2 separate regions of the Homo sapiens genome follow, and region 1 is linked to region 2. The links are contacts of gene promoters, found by promoter capture Hi-C in human tissues and cell types (Jung and others, 2019). All regions are on one chromosome and are shown on one strand. Each heading gives the region's core, a stretch centred on a gene start or on the middle of the fragment in contact. The rest is flanking DNA. Distances are from core to core; before and after follow the strand shown. Region 1 overlaps PTPRA (protein tyrosine phosphatase receptor type A). Region 2 holds the start of EBF4 (EBF family member 4).

Evidence for each region. Contacts are between HindIII fragments. The study calls those that stand out against the background at their distance.
Region 1: a fragment that was not itself captured here is called in contact with the fragment with the promoter of EBF4 in region 2 in 3 of the 25 tissues and cell types used here (H1 embryonic stem cells, dorsolateral prefrontal cortex and spleen).

The regions. Positions count from the first base shown.
Region 1 is chr20:2,955,981-2,959,232 of GRCh38, forward strand. The region is part of intron 3 of PTPRA (protein tyrosine phosphatase receptor type A); the gene reads left to right. Among named protein-coding and RNA genes, the nearest start is that of PTPRA, 84 kb to the left of the region's middle. The HindIII fragment of the contact is 4,102 bases long and covers 1-3,252 here.
Region 2 is chr20:2,691,480-2,694,555 of GRCh38, forward strand. EBF4 (EBF family member 4) reads left to right here and starts at 1,301. Exons shown (of 17, transcript NM_001395167.1): 1 at 1,301-2,303. The coding sequence starts at 2,167. LOC105372507 (a long non-coding RNA gene) reads right to left here and starts at 1,141. Exons shown (of 3, transcript XR_937210.3): 1 at 587-1,141. RefSeq lists an enhancer at 2,472-3,076. The HindIII fragment of the contact is 20,356 bases long and covers 1-3,076 here.

The DNA of each region.
Region 1 (3,252 bases), core at 27-2,526, 260 kb after region 2:
AAACTGGTCATCCTCCAGCTTATAGCATTGCAGTTCACTGAAGTTAGACATCTGGGCCTTGCTTACCTCCAACATCTCATTAGCCTTCGATTCTACCCCTATAAATCCTCTTCTCAGTCTCCTTTAGATATTCCTGCCCTGCTGTGAGATCCATCTGGTTTATTGGCTAGATTACTTCAGAAAGCTTCAGTCAGTGACCCTCCTTACTTCAAACCCCACCAGTTGATCCTTCACTCTGCCATCAGTCATTGCTTCTAAAATCTAAATTGTTCCATTTAACCTTGCTGTGATAAAACCTTTGGTAGTTCTTCAGTGTGTTCAGTGGTAAGTTAAAACTTTCACTGTAATGTACAGGCCCCTTCATGATATGATCGCTGCCTCCTCGAGCCTCATTGTGTGCATTTCCCCGCCCCACCCTTTCCTCACCCACCCTAGTCTTTCATGTCTGCCATTTTTACATTCATTTAGCAGATATTTATTGAAGCCCCCTGTGATGTCCTTACCTAGGTCTTTCTTGTTGCCAGGACCAGACAGGCTTTTTCAAGCTTCCAAGTCATCTCAGTTTGAAAGACTATGTCTGACCCTTGTCTTGGCCAATTACTCTTTATCCTTCCAAGTTCAATGATTGTCCCACTGCACTCCAACCAGAGTGAGAGAGCAAGACCCTGTCTCAGTAAATAAAAATAAATAAATAAATAAATAAATAAATAAATAAATCAGCCATAATTTATTTAATCATGTCTCTCTCCCCCATTGATAGACGTTAAGGGTATTTCCAGTATTCTTCTCTTGAAAACAATGCTACATTGAATAACCTTGTACATGGGTCACTTTGAAAGTATGGATATGTATCCGTGGAATAAGTTTCCAGAAGTGGAATTGTGTCAGAGGGGTTGTGCATTTGTAATTCTGATGAATATTTATAGATTATATGAGAGTACCTGTTTACTCAAACTCTTGCCAATGCAGCATTATCAAAGTTTTTTATGTTCGCCAGTGTGATAGATTAAAAAATGGTATCTCAGCCAGGCGCAGTGGCTCACGCCTGTAATCCCAGCACTTTGGGAGGCTGAGGCGGGCAGATCACGGGGTCAGGAGATCGAGACCATCCTGGCCAACACAGTGAAACCCTGTCTCTACTAAAAATACAAAAAATTATCCAGGCGTGGTGGCGGGCACCTGTAGTCCCAGCTACTCGGAAGGCTGAGGCAGGAGAATGGCATGAACCTGGGAGGCGGAGCTTGCACTGAGCCGAGATCGCGCCACAACATTCGAGCCTGGGCGACAGAGCGAGACTCCGTCTCAAATAATAAAAAAAAAAGATGGTATCTCAGCATTGATTTCTTTGATCATCAGTGAGGTTGAGCATCTTTTCATAGATTTAAGAGAACTGTATGGTTTTTTGTGAGTTATGTTTCATATCGTTTACCCATTTTACTTTTAGGCTGGAAGCAGCTGTTTTAGTGGAATGGTGGAACAAGAAGCCAGATTGCCATGGAGAGACAACTCTTTCTAGAGATTTGGCTATGAAGCAGAGTAGAGACAATGATAGCTGAAGGATTGATGTAGATGCAAAGAAATTTTTCATCTTCTTTGAAAACTTAATTGTGTTAAAAACTGGTATGAAAGGGAGGGGTTAAAGCTAGAGATGGTGGTAGAAAAAAATGCAGGGTTCCTAAAGGACTGAGATTCCTGGATGGAATTTCAGGGAAGGGGAAAATTTCTGGATATAGTGACTGGGGAGTTAAGGGTGTCTAGTCCAATGGCTTTTATTTTCTTGGAAGGGTAGGCAAGGCCAACAGCCACATGTGTGGGAGGAGATGGTTAGAGGGGAGAGGAGGTTTGAAGGCACCGCTATGGAGAATTGGAGAGAGCTAAGGAAAGACAGAAAGACTGCAGAAAGTGCTTAGGGTTCCACTGAAGCGGAAATAGTGATTTGTAGTGATACAACCCTTATGAGTTATTTGATTTTTTTTTTTTTTTAAGCAGCATCTGGCAGTCCAAGTATAGGGCTGACAGTTTGGGATTTTTCTTTCCATGTTGGTGTAAAAGAAGAACAGTGTAGTGAAGGAAGTTAGGACAAAAGAATGATTGAACTGACACCAAGTTTTCTTGATTTGGTAGAAAAGGAAATAAAGATAGAGCAGAGATATTGAAAAGAATTAGAGAGGGGTTCAAGAGACTGAAGGCCTGGGTGAGGTCAGAGAGCAGGTGTGGTAGACATAACAGAGAGAACTACAAGGATAGAAAGTGTGGTTGGAGAGTGGGAAGGCAAGATTTATTCAGTATGGGGGCTTTTCTGGGTGATGACAGCATCTGGAGTACAGCCATTGTCGTGAGTGGCCCAAGTGTAGCAGAGATAAAGCGTTGTTGGAGTGAAGGAAGTCAAGGAACTGAGAGGCTGGCCTAGATGGGGATTTTGGTTGTCATCCATGAGGATATTGAAGTCATCCAGGAGAATAGCAGGCCTGGGGGACAGGAAGGAAACTGAGCCACTTACAGTGTCTTCAGTGATAGGAAAGCACAGGGCAAAAAGCTTTCAAGAACAGGGACTGTTAAGCCGGGTACAGTGGCTCACACCTATAATCCTAGCATTTTGGGAGGCCAAGGCGGGTGGATCACTTGAGGTCAGGAGTTCAAGACCAGCCTGGCCAACATGGTGAAACCCCATCTCTACTAAAAAAAAAAAAAAAAAAAAAAAAAAAGAAATACAAAAATTAGCCAGGCATGGTGGCACGCGCCTGTAATCCCAGCTACTTGGGAGGCTGAGGCAGGAGAATTGCTTGAACCTAGGAGGCGGAGGTGGCAGTGAGCCTAGATCACACCACTGTACTCCAGCCTGGGCAACAGAGCGAGACTGTATCAAAAAAAAAAAAAAAAAAAAAGAACAGGGACTGTTAGAGCAGGCTCCAGGAGAAATGCTTTGCATATGGCATTCTTGAGGAGTGAGGAGGACCTCAACCCTACTTCCTGAAATGGAGCTCTGAGATGTTGGAGTAGAAATTTGGAAACCAGAGAGAGAAGTAAGGATAGTGTTGTTGCAAATGCATTGTATATGGGGGGTCGGGAAGTCACAGGAGTTTGCCTCAAAGTCTTTCTCGGAGACGGATGAGGTTTTCACTGTGATTTTCCTGGTCGTGGTCTATGGATATAGTACCTGTTAGTGACATGGATCTTCTTAACTTCTGATGTGTCTTTTCCTCCCTAGTGTACGCATACCAATTCTCTCCACAGCTTCCATCACCATGCATT
Region 2 (3,076 bases), core at 51-2,550:
TTTAGAGAGGCAGATCAGGAGATGGAGAAAGAGACTGGCTTAAGAATTGTCTTAAGGAGAAACCCATGTTTGATAATCCCACCTAGGGTAAAAGCTGAGACCTGAAGGAGTCCTGGTGGGAATGGCAGCCCCCTGTGGGTGATGGGGAGAGGCATAGAGAGAAGGGGTGGTAAAGAGACCAGGAAAGGAGGTGAGAGGGCCTCTGTGATGGCAGGAGAACCAGCAGTGCCCCCAGGACGCCTCATCTGGGCCAATGTGTGACAGAACGCTAACTCACACTTGGAGGCCCCCCAGAAGAGGATGGGAGTGAGTTGGAGCAGGAAGGTGTTATTGCAGGGGTGTCTGAGCGTGAACATGGCAGGCAGGGCAGGTGGCCCCCATGCTGTTCTGCAGGAAAGTGCTGGACTCAGTCTGGGCTTGCTCGAAGCCTGGCCAGGACAACGTGGGGAGAGGGGCAGAAATGTCTCTGCCCCACGGTCAAGGGCCAGACGACTTCTGTGCCAGGAACTAATAAAAAAAAAGGAATGGGATCTGAGACGGGACGCGGCTGGGGAGAAACAGGAGGTGAGCTGGGCTCTGAGCCTACCTGTCCAACTCGCAATCAGAAATCAGGAGGTTCCTGAAAGGCACAGATGGAAACTGAAAATGCTTTAGGCTTAGGTAACCCAGCATCAGGAATCGGGATGGTTGGATGCAGGGACCTCGCCCAGCTTGTCTGGGGCCGCAGCCTACGGCAGGGACGTTTCAGTCCTTAGCTGGGGTGAAAGTGAGGTCAGGGTCGCCGGGGAAATGCGGGAGTACAGTCACGCGGGAGAAAGACGTCAAGAGCGAAAGCTCGGAGGCGTCAAAATGAGCAGCAAGTCCAGGCACAAGGCGTCGGGCGCGGAGAGTACGGCGGGTGCCGGGGGAGGGAGATGAGGCCGCGAAGACGCCGGGGCTTCGTCCGGCGGCGACGGGGAGGCCGCGGAGGTTCCCGAGCGCAGCGGGGCGCGCACCTCCCGCTCGGGCCGGGCTCCCTCGCCGCGCGGCCCCGGATCCTCCCTGCGCGGGTTTCCGTGGCCCCCGCCGGGCTCTTCCGTTCCCTCCCGCGGCCTCGACCAGGCCGCAGCCCCCAGCCCAGGCGACCGACTCGCCAGGGTCCGCCCCGCCGCCGCGGCCCGGGCCCGGCCGCTCCTCCCCCGATGATGTCACGTCCCCGGCCGCCCCTCGGCCGGCCGCGCCGCCCCGCCCCCGCCTCCCCCGGGCCCCCGTCCCCTGGGCCCGCCCGCTCCCGACATCCCTCCTCCCGCCTGCGCTCCCTCCCTTCGGCTACCGCTCCCCCGGGAGCGGCGGCGGCGGCGGCGGCGGCGGCGGGATGGCCCGGGCCCGAGGCCAGGCCCCGGGGAGCGGCGGGCGGCGGCGGCCGCGGCGGGGCGGCGCGGGAACCGGGCCCCGGGGGGAGTCGGCCGGGCTGCTGCTGCTGCTGCTCCAGGTGCTGCCGCCCGGGGCTACGGCAGGGCCGGGACGCCGGGGCACGCGGGGCGCTGGCGCTGGCGGCGGCGGCGTCTGCTGGCCCGGCGCGGCCCCAGCCTTTCCCCGGGACGCGCGGCTGCTGCTGCTCCTGCCGCCGCTGCCGCCACTGTCGCCGCCGCCGCCGAGCTCCGCGCCCGCAGCCTCCGCCTCCCGGATGGTAATCAGCGCCCCGCGCTGGCGCCGCGGGCGGGCGGGCGGGCGGGAGGTGGGGGCGGCGAGGGGGAAAGGGCGGGCGGCCCCGCGCCCCCGCCTTGCCCGAGGCAGCTCCCGGGGCGCTCGGGCCCCCCCTCCGACGACCGCGGCCCCGGGCAGCCGCCAGAGCGCGCCTCTGGGGCGCCTCCGCGCGGACCGGGTGCGGGCTCCGCTCCCCGCCCTCCCCGCCCCGCTCGCAGTCCGCCCGCCAGCGCTCAGGCCGCGGGGGAATCCCTCCATCTCCCCGCCCAGCGCCCCAGGAGGGGAGGGGACAGCGCCGGCGCCCGCGGACCCGCTTTCTCCGAGGGAGCGCCCAAGAGGCGAGCGCGCACTGAGCCACCCGGACTCGGCGCTGCGCTGCTGGAGGCGCCTGGTGCCGTCGGGTCGGGCTGAGCTAGACGCCCGCAGCCTCAGCGGGACCGGATCCGGGGCGGCGGGGGCGCTCACTCACCGCGCGCCCTCATGTTCCCTGCGCAGGACGCTCTGCCCCGCAGCGGGCTGAACCTGAAGGAGGAGCCGCTGCTGCCCGCCGGCCTGGGCTCAGTGCGCTCCTGGATGCAGGGCGCGGGCATCCTGGACGCCAGCACCGCGGCGCAGAGGTAAGCGCTCGGACCGGACCCGGTGCGCTCGGGTTGGACGGCTGCGCGCCGCCTCAGCTCAGCTTGCTGGAGCTGCTGGAGCCAGGGGCGGAAGGAGCCCTAACTCTGGACGGTCCCGGCGAGCTCCCCGGCCCACCCCGTCCGGAGTGCCTGTGCTGCCTCCTGAGGCTGTGGGGCGGGCTGGGGCGGGGCTTCTGCCTCCACTCCGGGCTGCCCCGGTAGATTTCTGACGGCCGCTCGCGGGTGCGGCGGTGAACGCCACCCCAGCCGGGCTGTCTATGGCTCTGAGAGAAGAGGCAGAGCTCCCAGCCATGACCCACAGCCACCGGCCGTCTAGGAACGTCCAGCCCCTCCTTCCTGGGCAGTCCCAGTGACTCTCCTTGTCCAATTCCGCAGCTCTCTGTCAGGAAAGGCACGAAACCCAGCCCCCTTTTTCCTTTCCCACGCCCCTCAGAGTTGGCGGATGGGGGTGTGCAGAGCCAGAGAAGCGGCTGGGGGCTGGACGGTGGCGAAGAGATGAGGTGGGCAGTCGGCCTGGCTGGACTGATTGGCCTGGGAACTGGGCAGGGCCCCTGCCTTTCCCTCGGGTGTTTTTCTGGTAGGTCCTTTGGAAGGCAGAGAGTCCCTGGGAACCCAGCACCCGCGCCGGTCTCCTCTGACTCCTTTGCAGGGGTCTGGGAGTCTCAGTAGGGGGTTGACTCCAGGATTTGAAAGCGAACTTTAAAAGTTTATTGACCTGCCCCCAAAGCCCCTGCACCCCCTGGCTTTTTGCA